4 separate regions of the Homo sapiens genome follow, and all the other regions are linked to region 3. The links are contacts of gene promoters, found by promoter capture Hi-C in blood cells and fetal thymus (Javierre and others, 2016). All regions are on one chromosome and are shown on one strand. Each heading gives the region's core, a stretch centred on a gene start or on the middle of the fragment in contact. The rest is flanking DNA. Distances are from core to core; before and after follow the strand shown. Region 1 overlaps UTRN (utrophin). Region 2 holds the start of TXLNB (taxilin beta). Region 3 holds the start of VTA1 (vesicle trafficking 1). Region 4 has its middle 6.6 kb from the start of CITED2.

What was found. The method cuts DNA at HindIII sites, captures the fragments that hold promoters and counts their contacts. A CHiCAGO score of 5 or more calls a contact.
Region 1: a fragment that was not itself captured here is called in contact with the fragment with the promoter of VTA1 in region 3 in 1 of 17 cell types (activated CD4 T cells); the score reaches 6.1 in activated CD4 T cells.
Region 2: a contact is called between the fragment with the promoter of TXLNB here and the fragment with the promoter of VTA1 in region 3, in 6 of 17 cell types (total B cells, naive B cells, non-activated CD4 T cells and 3 more). The highest score is 11.6, in total B cells.
Region 4: a contact is called between a fragment that was not itself captured here and the fragment with the promoter of VTA1 in region 3, in 2 of 17 cell types (total B cells and fetal thymus). The highest score is 6.7, in total B cells.

Annotation. Positions count from the first base shown.
Region 1 is chr6:144,344,220-144,347,241 of GRCh38, reverse strand. All of the region lies in intron 2 of UTRN (utrophin), which reads right to left. Among named protein-coding and RNA genes, the nearest start is that of SNORA98, 60 kb to the left of the region's middle. RefSeq lists enhancers at 1,207-1,707, 1,708-2,208. The HindIII fragment of the contact is 2,604 bases long and covers 237-2,840 here.
Region 2 is chr6:139,290,748-139,293,879 of GRCh38, reverse strand. It overlaps TXLNB (taxilin beta), which reads left to right and starts at 1,882. Exons shown (of 10, transcript NM_153235.4): 1 at 1,882-1,959. All of the region lies in intron 4 of LOC102723690 (a long non-coding RNA gene), which reads right to left. RefSeq lists enhancers at 2,658-2,907, 3,108-3,132 and a silencer at 2,754-3,048. The HindIII fragment of the contact is 5,007 bases long and covers 1,682-3,132 here.
Region 3 is chr6:142,145,963-142,149,114 of GRCh38, reverse strand. It overlaps VTA1 (vesicle trafficking 1), which reads right to left and starts at 1,852. Exons shown (of 8, transcript NM_016485.5): 1 at 1,716-1,852. The coding sequence starts at 1,827. It overlaps NMBR (neuromedin B receptor), which reads left to right and starts at 1,993. Exons shown (of 4, transcript NM_002511.4): 1 at 1,993-2,071. RefSeq lists enhancers at 1,151-1,671, 1,926-2,065, 1,829-2,123. The HindIII fragment of the contact is 1,973 bases long and covers 451-2,423 here.
Region 4 is chr6:139,366,261-139,369,737 of GRCh38, reverse strand. No RefSeq gene overlaps it. Among named protein-coding and RNA genes, the nearest start is that of CITED2, 6.6 kb to the left of the region's middle. RefSeq lists an enhancer at 101-919. The HindIII fragment of the contact is 4,905 bases long and covers 1-3,477 here.

The sequences.
Region 1 (3,022 bases), core at 289-2,788, 2.2 Mb before region 3:
GTGATTCTAATGGGGGACCCAAGTAGTGAATCTTTTAACCCTTCCATCTAAAAAGGAAACAGCTGACATAGAGTCCTGTCAGCAGGCAAGAAAGCAGGAAGGATGGCAAAACGAGCAGGGCTCCCAGGAGTGGTTTCCTGAGCAGTGGCAATTTCCAGACATGAGTCATCTGGGCCTTCATAGATGCCTAAATGGCCAGTCCCGCCTCCAAATTATTCATTTCACATTTTCAAGCTTGTTTTGAAACTTTGGTTTATCTCAGTTATATTATTGTTAGCATCTAGTGAAAATGATGATACAGCTGGATAAAGATAGAGATCGATAGATAGATAGATGATAGATAGATAGATAGATAGATAGATAGATGATACATAGATAGACAGAGAGATAGTGATAGAGATAGAGATCTATTTTTTTTTTAAACAGAGTCTCGCCCTGATGCCCGGGCTGAAGTGCAGTGGCGCAATCTCAGCTCACTGCAACCCCCGCCTCCCGGGTTCAAGCGATTCTCTTGCCTCAGCCTCCCAAGTAGCTGGGATTTCAGGCACCCACCACCACACCCAGCTAATTTTTGTATTTTTAGTAGAGACGATGTTTCACCACATTGGCCAGGCTCCTGGCCTGAACTCCTGACCTCAGGTGATCTGCCCGCCTCGGGCTCCCAAAGTGCTGGGATTACAAGCATGAGCCATTGTGCCTGGCTGAAAATATTATTTTTAACATTAAATTTAATGTCCTTATTTCTAACAAGATGACTAAAGAGCCTACACTATGGACACACACAAAAAAATCAGTTCAATAGCAACTGATGAGAGGAGAATCTAGGCCCTTGTGAAATTGGAAATCATGTACACATTGGTTTTCTATTTTTATTAAAATAACATGCACTGAAATACATTTTAATTTTAAAAATGCTATTTTCCTAAAGCCTTTTGATTGGTCATAGGGCAGGAAAGAATGTTATCTAAATGAACCAGAACTCAACCAGCACAGCATTTAAATATATTTAACACTGTAGCTACTCATTTAAAAGCCTGCTTTTTTATTTTATTTTTTTTTTTTTTGAGACAGAGTTTTGCTCTTTCACCCAGGCTGGAGTGCAATGGTGTGATCTTGGCTCACTGCAACCTCCACCTCCCAGGTTCAAGTGATTCTCCTGCCTCAGCCTCCCAAGTAGCTGGGATTACAGGCACGTGCCACCACGCCCGACTAATTTTTGTATTTTTAGTAGAGACAAGGTTTTACCATGTTGGCCAGGCTGGTCTAGAACTCCTGACCTCAGGTGATCCGCCTGCCTTGGCCTCCTAAAGTGCTGGGATTACAGGCGTGAGCCACCGCCCCCGGCCAAAGCCTGCTTATTATTTAAAGGTTTGTTTGTACTTTTCTTCTAGCTGTCTTCTGATTTCAATCATTAAGGTTACCCTAGACCCTTTGTAGCAAGACCCTTTGATGAAGACTAGCTGACCACAGAGACTCTTAATGGTGGGGAAAGAGAGAGGATTTAGTGACAATCAAAGGAAATCTTCGAAAGGCCACAAGCCTGCAATTGCTGCCCCTATGCAGGTTTTTGAGACAAGGTATCCCTCTGTTGTCCAAACTGGAATGCAGCGGCATGATCGTGGCTCACTAGTCTCAAACTCCTAGGTTCAAGCTATCCTCCCACCTCAGTCTCCTAAGTAGCTGGGACCACAGGCACATGCCACCATGCCTGGCTGATTTTTAAATTTTTTGTAGAGATGGAATCTCCCTGTGTTGCCCAGAGTGGTCTCGAACTCCAGGCCTCAAGTGATCCTCATGCCGCAGCCTCCCAAAGTGCTTGGATTACAGGTATGAGCCATTGTGCCTGGCCCGCGTGGAGTTTTAATTCAGGTCCCTGAGAGGTATTTTGATGTTGTGTTGGGATCACATGGTTATTTAAGAAAGAAGTAACAGTTAATGATGAGAATTGTAGCACACCAGTCTCCTATGCCACTTGTTCAAGAAACCCAATTCACTAAGAAAATATGGGCTGCTCCAATCATTTTGGTTTGAATTTGCTCTGCAGAGACAACGCTACAACCCCTTACCACCTCATTCACTGAAGCTAAGAAGGAAAACATTAAGAGGGAAAGAGTAATTCCACAAGAAAGGAAAACATTGAAAAAGAAAACCAACCAGTCTCAAAGTTTTTTCATAGTGACAACATTCATGCATGATATGTATGATCGAATAAAACACATCACTTGGGGTTTTTCCCCTCCAAAAGCTCATACAACCAGTACACACATGTATACATTAAACAAGATATGAACATCTAAACTGATCAGAAAAACTAAGTCACCCCGGAAGTAAACTTCAGCGAGAGAAAAGTGCACGACACTTTCCCTGCATGAAGTTATGCATATGCATGTCTCATAGACAAGCCTGCACTGAAACAGAAACCCCAGCACTCATACTGTCCCCCAAAGTACAAACGTTTTATTCTCCCCTTTCTCAGGTCAAAACTAAATATTTCAAGAAGTAAAATGCCTTTTTAGCCAACAGAGTAAATCAAATACAATATGGGATGAGGTCTACCAATACTCAACACCACAAAGGAGGCTTCTTCTCTAGATGGCAGTAAACAGCACAGAGTAAGCTATTTTGAAAATACAGGGAGGTAAAGTGAAGCATATTTGCTACCACAAATATAGGGATCCTGGAAGGCTTCTTCCAAAGAAACTAATAACTCTGGTGAATTATCACTTCCTGAAGAGAAGTGTGAAGCAGACAGCGTTGGTCTCTACTCTTGAGGGTCCACAACAGACGTGGCAGCAGGAAAGACAGGCTGTCTGTTCCCGTCACCAGCCTGGTCCTAAGCTTTGTTACTTAACAAAACTGAATGAAAGAACCCTGTCTTCATAGACGTTTCTTAAGAAAACCTCACTGGCTGGGAGTCGTGCAAGTTGACAAACTTACCTGGTAATCGCTTGCAAGCCTGGAGAGCTACATGCCCTGGCAAATCCAATCTGCACTTTTTCCAATGAAACGTGGTGGCTGCCAG
Region 2 (3,132 bases), core at 633-3,132, 2.9 Mb after region 3:
TCATTAATTTAGAAGAAAGTGCTTTTCTCTTTCATCAATTTTAATTCACTAACTTAATTATCAAATAATATAGTGAACAGCTTCATTGTCTTCAACACTGGAATTTCTTTATCCTGACTTCTGCTTGTTGGGTGCACTCATCTATATATAACTTATGCCTCCCCTAAACTCAGAGAATAAGTAGGACAAAACTGGGGGTGGGATGTTTTCATTTCCTTTTGTTGCCATAACATCTTATCACAAATTTAGCAGCTTAAAAATAACATAAGTTTGCTATTTTATATTTCTGGAGGTCGGAAATCCAAAACGAATTTCTTTGATCTAAGATCAATGTCGCAGGATTGCATCCCTCTGGAGGCTCTAGAGTATAATCTGTTTCCTTGCCTTTCCCAGCTTCTAGAAGCTTCCTGACCTATGCTGAGGTCATCAAATCTCCTTTTCTGCCTCCAATCCTACTGCCTTCCTCCCTCATTTATAAAGACCCTTATGAGGCTGAGTGCAATGGCTCACGCTTATAATCCCAGCACTTTGGGAGGCCGAGGTGGGCGGATCATGAGGTCAGGAGTTCGAGACCAGCCTAGCCAACACAGCGAAACCCCGTCTCTACTAAAAATACAAAAATTAGCTGGATGTGGTGGCAGGCGCCTGTAATCCCAGCTACTTGGGAGGCTGAGGGAGGAGAATCGCTTGAACCCGGGAGGTTGCAGTGAGCTGAGATTGCACCACTGCACTCCAGCCTGAGTGACAGAGCGAGACTCTGTCTCAATAAATAAATAAATAAATACCCTTATGATTACATTGAACCCACCCAGTAGTTCAAGATAACCTCCCTACCTCAGGATCCTTCCTCACATCTGCAAAGTCTCTTTTGTCATGTAAAGAAACATATTCACAGGTTCCAGGGAGTAGGACGTGGAGATCTTTTGGGTGGCATTATTCTGCCTCCCACAAGGGATGCCACTATGCCTAGCCTGTCCCCAGAGCAGAAACCGATGGAGGAATCTGCTTTGGAAGTATGGGAACACAAGCTCCAGAAAGAAAAATAAAAGGCAAATGGATGTAAATTAATAGACAGGCATTTTATGGTGAATCAGAAGGAATTTCTTTTTCTGAGGAGGATCAAGGAGCATGTTGAGGATTTACAAAATGTGGGAAAGCCACCAACTAAGGAAGAAAAAGCAGACTGCTTCCCTGAGGGTTTGTTTGAGATGGGAAGAGTTACCTGGGAAAGACTGTGCTCCAAGGTCACACCAATTACCACGTGCATGAAGATTATACTCAGTTCAGCTCCAAAATCACCATCTACATGTTTATTTCAAACTTTGCAAACAAACCAAACAATGACATCAGAATTAAAATGGTTCCACCACCTCCCTGTTCTTATGCCATTGTTTTTCTTTTTCCATGATTCCTGTAAGAAACCTGACACTAATTAAGCTAGTGCAAGAAGAAGAAGAAAAAGAAGATGAATCTTCCACCACACTGGAGATAACCCAAGAAGTAAGAAAAACTGATCTCTACCCAAAAAGGACAACAATGGTGAAAGACTGCATTTGCAACGGGGGTAATATACTCAGAGTTTAAATTTCCGAAAGGACAAACAAAACATGGAGAGTCTAATGAGATCTTCCAGCTGCTTCTCTCTGCTAAGGTATTTCCCCTGGCAACAGCTAGGGAAGCTTGGGTGTATTTTCCCCTTGCTGTGTCATATGATGTTCCTTTCCCTACCCCCACCTCCTCCAGACTGCTGCCTCCATCAGTGCCTGTGGCGTGTGTGTGTGTGTGTGTGTGTGCGCGCGCGTGCGTGCACGTGTGTATGTGTGTGTGTGTGTATTGGGTTTCTCTCTCCCTTGTAAGAACACAGCCAGCCCGCCCTCTCCTGCTGTTGCTGCAGCTCTGACTTGCTTTTTCCTGCCTCCTTCCTCTCCTCTCTCTTCTTGCTTAGCTTCTTGCCTTCTGGTAAGTATGACAAACACTCCCCCAAGCCCTGTGAGAAGGTATAGGGTGCGGTTTGTGGTGTTCGAAACTTGCAACTTTGAGATTGCCAGTGAACTGTTGGAGAACTTTTCATTGTTGTATTTATAAATAAAATGTGTTGCTTAGGGAGGGATGTGTCTGTGATAGTCATCTGGAATAGCCAACACAAGTGAAAAGTTCTCTCCCTGGGGAGGGGAAAATAAGGCAATAAAGTTTATATAAGATAAAAGTTAGAAATAATTTCTTTGCCACATAATATAAAATGGATGATTGAAAAGTAACAAAGTTCTCTGACTTTGTTTTTTTCCCTCTTGTTAACTTGTCTTGAGGCTACTTTTGGGAATTGAATTGTCCTGGGCTTTATAATGACTGTTCTGTTTTAAAGTAAATGTGGAACAGGAGTTTAAAGAATAGCCATGGAATTAAGAATTTAAAAAATCAATGATTGTGGCATCTCATGAAGAATAAATCAAATACAAACAGCCACTTGCATTTAGACTAACCGAAGTAAAACTCCTATGGACAGCTTATCTTAAATTAATTATTTTGAAGTTCATTTTACTTGAGATTTTATTTCATCCTAAGATAGTCTCCCCGACTTTAAAACCCATGTATGGATTTAAGCCACTAAATGTTTACTGTTTTCAATTTGACTGAAAAACGATTCTCTTGATTTTCAAGGATGAAGTGCTAAACGGCATGACTCATTTTAGAATAGCTTAAAATAACTTCTGGCTGGACAGCAGGTGCCGTGTGTCTTTCTCCGTGTTCAGGGGAGGCCTAAGTTATATATAGATGAGTGCAATCAACAAGTGAGGTCAGGAAAAGAAATCCCAGTGATGAAAATAATGAAACTGCTGCATTATTTGATAATCAAGTTGGTGAATTCAAACCAGTGAAAGAAAAAAAGTACTTCCTCTAAGTTATGAGTGTTTGGTGAGCATCACAAGTCAGTGGCAACATCTGTGTGTTGAATTTTCTGTTCTTGTTGGTGTCTGAGCATTCAATTGACATCTACTGCCCTGAGAACAGGAAAAGGAAGCTGTGCAGTTGTAGAACAGTATGCTTTTGTTTTCACTTTCATGTTACCACAACAGCAAAACCTGTGAATTATGAGGATCTTGCCACATTTTTATGCTGCTATTTAGCAGCATC
Region 3 (3,152 bases), core at 603-3,102:
GAATGATATGGTGAGAGTTTATGTTATATTTTTAAATAAAGGAAACTGGATTAGGTTTAGAAAAATCTAGAGGGAAAGGACGACAGTGAGTAAGGTGTCCCTGGTTTGTCACAAAGATACATGATACAGGGATCGGGAACAGGAATTTCCTTTAGGGATGAGAGATTCTTTGACCTTATCCCATCACTCCCAAGCCCCATCCACTCCAGTCACAATAGTCTACTTACTCCTCCTTCCAGCAAGCCTCTACTTCGGGACTTTTATAACCTCTATGGAGAATACTCTTTCCCAGATGGTGCAAGGTATGCCTTTCACTCTTTTATTTCCCCAAATGTCAATTCAGTGAAGTGTTCCTGACCACTATGAAACTGAAATCCCATCTGCACTCCCTGCCACCACTACTCCTGATACTCTTATTCCTTTTCCTTGCTCTATTTGTCTTCATAAGCTTTTAATACTCTATGTATGATAGACTCTATATTGTTGAAACTCTCTACCTCCATTGTATGTAAGCTCCAAAAATGCAGCAAATGTAGTCACAGCGCCTACTAATGCTTGATACAAAGGTAGCTCAATGAACACATACTGAATGAATATGGACCCTGCTTGAGGAAACTGAAGAACAAGTATAATAAAAATGATGCTGTAAAATTTGAACAAAATGAAGTAATGCACAGAGAATAATCAATTTGCTGCCCACAGAAGTGGTGACATTTGGGTTAGATCTTGAATCATGAGTTTGCCAAGTGCAAGAAAAAGGTGCACATTCCAAGAGAGTGGAAGATGGTAGGTCTGAAAAGGCCTTGCACATTTGAGAAACAGGGTACATTTGGAGTATGGCAGAGATAACAGTGACCAGATTTTAGCTAACCTTACAATATACACAACAATGGACGCATTATATCCAACTTCTCAACTCTAAATATCCTTTTCAGAATTATAATTGTCCAGTTACTTGTTTTATTTGCAGTAAAGTTAAGAGTACAGAATACAAAATAAAGTTAACACAGAATTACTGGCACTCCCTTTACTCACTACAAGTTTGAGCAGAGTTAACCTATATTTTTTTTAATCAAACTGTAAATTCAACGTATAACACTCAAAGTGAAAATACTGCTTTCAAAGGTCTCAACAGCGGGTATTATTCAAAGAAGTCAAAACTAAAAATTCTGCATGGTAGGAGAGAGCAGCTGGGTGGGGAAAGGTCAAATTCAACTGCTTATTTAGTAGCAGATACTCCCCATTTAACCAAATGAGTTTCTGATTGGGCTTGCATGCTGTCATAAATAATATTCACTTATTACTATGTTTTCAACTAGTCTATCGTCCTTTTATCCACATCACTCCTTCTTTCGGACACTCACCTTCGTTTTAAACCTAACTCAATTTATTTTCAGGATTCCTATTTGAGACAAGAAGCTCTTGTGTGTACACACACAGAGAAAACCTTGGAAGATTATATTCCACAGTTCAAGAGCCTGTGTAGTCAGTACTGGAGCATTTAAGCACAAGATAGGAGAAGCAGTGGACACCATGGTGTTTTGGGATTCCTACTGCCAGGGGGTGGGAACCCAGGGAGTTCCCTGGGTAGGCTCGAGGTCAAAGCTCAGGTTTAAAGCGAGGGGGGCGGGGCATGCCCCAAGAACCTCAGGGAGGTGTGTGGGCCCTAAAATGCAACTGGGAAAGAAAGGGCGCGGCCACTCGGAAAGACTCACAGTAATAAGCCACCACAGGGTCTCGCTTGTCATGCTCCTGAGCCGTCCTCAGATGATGCTGTATGCTCTTGAACTGTGCGGGGAGCGGGGGCAGCGGTGCAAGCGCGGCCATCTCTACTCCGAACTCACCACTTCCTACTCGCGCTCCACCGGCACTTCCGCTTCCGTCTGGGCGGTAGCGCGCACGAGCGTTCAGAGCAAATGCTGCCCACTCTTCCGTTGCTCAGCGACGTCAAGTCAACTACGGATCCCCAGCTGGGACAACCTCAGGGTGCTTGGCTCTCGGCGGTTAGAACCCACAGAAGACCCGAGCATTTTGGCGCTTATGCCGCGCATGGCGCTAGCGCTCTCTGCTGGTAGGAGGAAGGGTTTTTGTTTTGTTTTGCTTTTTTGTTTGGTTTGTTGTTTGTGGCAAAAGGAAGGATAGAAAAGGAAAAACAAGAAAATAATGTATGTTGACTGGGAGAAAGTATAAAGGCGAGAATTGCCTTTGGCGTCATTCAGGAATTACCACTTCCAGTTAATATGCCACATTAATATTCCATATAGCAGTGTCCTTTAGAAGCCTTTTTGATTTTAGAAACTTTAATTTCAATACTTGCATGAGAGAGAAATAATGTGTTTAAATTGTAAATTAAATTTTTCTATGTTGACATACTGGATAAAATAATCAGATTTCGCGCCAAATTAAGCTAAACATATGAAGCTTAAAGAAGATTGAACTTTTGTTCTCAGCTGGCTAGTACGTATTTTAGTGAATGAATAATCTGTAGATCACCTTTTTTTTTTCTGGAGAGTGATTAACAATTTGTAAAGTATTTTCATATTTATTATCTTGTCTTAATGTAAGATAGGGTGTTTGGGACGTTTTCAACGCTGGTAACTCTTAACCATTGTACAGTAGGCATCACTTTTCCTTCTACCCTCAATGACTTCAATTCTCTTCCTCTCCTCTCCATCCCTTACTTATATCTTTCAGGACTGTACACTTTATTTACTTCCTCCAATAACCTTCTTTATTTTATCTCAGTCCTCAGTTTTGACAATTCATCTTAAAACTAGTTTTCACTGAAATCACACTATCCCCAAGAGCCAAAATCTCCAGCTCGGAAATTCCCCTCTGCCTACTATTTTCTGATCACTCTCTCACCCCCAGAAGAAACCGCTCCATGTCCTCATATTATCCCACTCCACATACGTTGCCTAGACCTATTTGCAAAGTCCATCATCTTATTCTGGGTCGGGCTTTTTTACTCAGCCTGAAACTCAGTTCTGTCTTCTTCCCCAATCTCAGCGGCATATTTCCTACCACTGGAGAATGTATGGTTTCTTTCTCTTTCTCTTACTCCCACTATTTGGACTTTCCAGTCAAAAGTTGCTAGATTGGTAGAGAAATCAATGAAGAAAAGCAGAGTTGGATAACCATAACTGTTTTCT
Region 4 (3,477 bases), core at 822-3,321, 2.8 Mb after region 3:
AATCTATTATGGGTGGCCAGCTTTGCAATAAAAACTTTGCAGCCCCGGACCATTAGGTGTTTTCGCCCCCTTGTGGAATTTATTTAGAAGGTCAATGAAAAGCTGTTTCCTCAAGAGCTTTTTCGCTTTTTTGTTTGTTTTGTTGCCATTTCTGAAGACTTTGTTTTCTTCTTTGAGCAAACAGCACATATTCGAGCAACACATTTTTTAAATCAAAGAAGATTCCAAAATAAACATCCTTTATAAAATAAGAATATTTTACTTACCAAAAACCTTAACCTATGATTAAGTGTGCATAATTGAGATTTGCCTCATATTTGAAAATATGCATTACCTAAGGGGTTTTCTTTTAAAAGTGTAAGGAGCAGTGGTTTGGGCTGATGCTTTAGCCTGCAAACTGAGGGGATGGCAAACCCTCAGCGCCTCCACAACAGGACTGTTGATTTGCAGTAAGGGTAAATAACAATGCATTTGACGGTATGAGGTTGGAAAGGTGGAGGGAAATATCCAGGAATGCAGAATGCAATTATCCACATTGGAATGTGACCAAGCCACCAGCCCTAATCTTGTGAAAGGACTGCAGGATCTTTAATGAGGATGAGTGTTGCTGTCTAATTGAGTCAGTAAAATTTACTTTAAAATAAACTGGGCAGATAACATTGTCTCCAAAAAATAAATAAATTTAGAATTCAAGGAATTTAAGACCCATGCCATTGGCAATTTTTTCCTCTGCAGTGGAAATGTTTTGCTAGCATGAAAGCAGCAGTACACCTCTTCAGAAATGCATGCTTCAGAGATGGTATTTATCATTTTGGGACTGCACCACTATCATCAAAATCAGCGCTCCCAGGCAGGTTGAGGCTGAGCCTCCAGAAGAGAACAATAGGTAGCACATCAAATGACTCAGCCAGTGAACCCCTATTATCATGGGCTCTGTTTGTCTTCTCCCCCTAGAATAGAAGGAACAATGGCAATGTCAGAATTTTAATTGCAATGGACTGGCTTAAATTACTTGACCTATTTTTATGCAGCAAGGAGAAAAATGATTCTTTTTTTTTCCTGGTAGCCATACTTTTAATTTAAACTGGAAAAGGAAATATAAGAATATTTTCCATCAAATAACATACTGCTGATAATTTTAGTTTGCCTTGTAGTGAGACCTACCTATATTTTAAAAAAATATTAAAACATCTGAAATAAAGAACTTCTTCCCTTCCCAGGAAGAAATTAAACTCATAAGTAATGCAGTAATGCTAAAGAGTGAGAAAATATTCTAAGAGCGGCTGGCGTGAATTTCTATCATATTTTGATATTTATACACAATGAAAGAAAAGCTATGATAAGTAAGAGTCTGTTGTGTTGAGGAACTGAATCCATGATCCTTGGGAAAGAGAAACTATCAGACCGACCTCTTCCATACTGTCTATGAACAAATAATGACTTTTTAGCGGCTGGATTCTTATCAGTTACTTCCTTCCCCTAGAGGAGCACTAAATGAAGCAGCCCCAGGAGGCAGTTAGTGGTGCTTTTTGAGAATTCAGCTTGGCTAAATCAGGACTTGCAGAGTGAGCAAAAAGCACATGAAAGAAAGATGGACGGTGAATATTATTACTTGCTTTATATGTTATTAGTTTTCATTAGGCTGAACTAATCTGAAAGATTAGTGAGGCAGGGGCACAACCAGGGGTGAGGACTGTGGTTCACGGAATTCTTGGAATTTTCCCATGGTATCACCATTGTGCTCAGCCCTGAAATCCCTCCCTTTCTTCCCTCTACAGTAGAGTGGTTACTTGATTACATTTTGGGTTGCTGAACAAAGCCGACAGGGGAATCTGTCTCCTGAGGAGCCTGTAGCAAGGCAAGGTTAGCGTGGTGCGCATTGCAGGAGATATGCAAATAGGCGAGTGGCTTTTGAAAAGTTAATAGTGCCCAAAGAATTCTGCCTGTCCATTCCTGAAAGCTGAGTGGGGAGCAAAATTAAGGCTTGAGTGCAAGTCAAACTAGCACAAAATCAGGAAAAGTCAGCCAACTCCAGATTGTCAGTACTGTTTTTATGAACACATGCTACAGTGAAGGAAATGGGATTGGAGGCTATTGAGGTCTTTTCTCTTTGGGTTTTCCTATGGATTGGTATAACATTTGGCCTTGTGATTTCCTTAGTCACTAGGCCACAGAATTTTATTGTTGTTAGTGGTGGTGGTTTATTCTCGTAACCCACTGGGTTTGGGGTTTGGTTTGGGTTCCGTTGGGTTTTTTGCTTCATGACAGTTGCTATCTCCTTAAAGCACATATAGTATACTTCAATTGTGCATACACATTCTTAGATCACCTTGTAAATATGGCCCCGTTGCATGTATTTTGGATAACTCTTGAAAGGAGGATAAGCAAGATGATGACCAGTTTCATACATCTCTCTTCACCCTATGTGTTTAGCAAACATAAGGACGATGAGGCCAGTAGGTGAAAAATGATTGAACTGACTGTTATGTTCCTAATATGAACTTAAATATCTAAATGTTTCTAAGATCCCCTTCTGACACCATTTTTTGGATCAATAGTTCTCAGCTGGGTAGAGGTACCTCTCAGGCTGGGGAGAAGGGAGAGAAAACAGTAACTTATAAAAACATATTCCATACTATATTTGGACAGATGTTTTAATACACATTCTTTTAGTAAAACAAAATGTAGAAAGACATTTCAAACTCTTATTATTTTTTTATTTATTTTGTTTGAGACAGAGTCTTGCTCTGTTGCCAGGCTGGAGTGCAGTGGCGCAATCTCAGCTCACTGCAACCTCCACCTACTGGGTTCAAGCGATTCTCCTGCCTCAGCCTCCTGAGTAGCTGGGACTACAGGCACGCACCACCATGCACAACTAGTTTTTTTGTATTTGTTGGCCAGGATGATCGCAATCTCTTGACCGCGTGATCCACTCACCTCGGCCTCCCAAAGTGCTGGGATTACAGCGTGAGCCACTGCGCCTGGCCTCAAAATCTTCTTGACTGATAGGGCATAGATTTTTAAATGGTAAGAAACACTGTTTAGACTGCATGGGATCAAATCGAAGAAATTTACCCTTCAATCAACATCTCTTAACAAATCTCTCTGTTGACCATAAGTTTCCTGTGGCTGCCTTGGTTGAGCACTTACTATGTGACAGATATTGTGGTAGGCACTTTACATACATAATCTCATTTAATGCTCACAATATGCTTGCAAGATTCATGATATTCTTCCAAATTTACATAAGGAAATTGACATTTAGAGAGGAAGTCAACTGCTCAAGGACAACACAGTAGCGGATAGAGGAGCAGAGTAGTTTCCAGACCTAGCTTCCGAGTCAGTGCTCTTTCTAAGACGCAGTGCTGCTGTGATAAACCAAATGACACCTATTCTTAAATGCCACTGATTGTAAAATGATCAATAAGTGATTAAGAGAAAAACCCATTACATTACATGAACACAAGTTCTAAAATA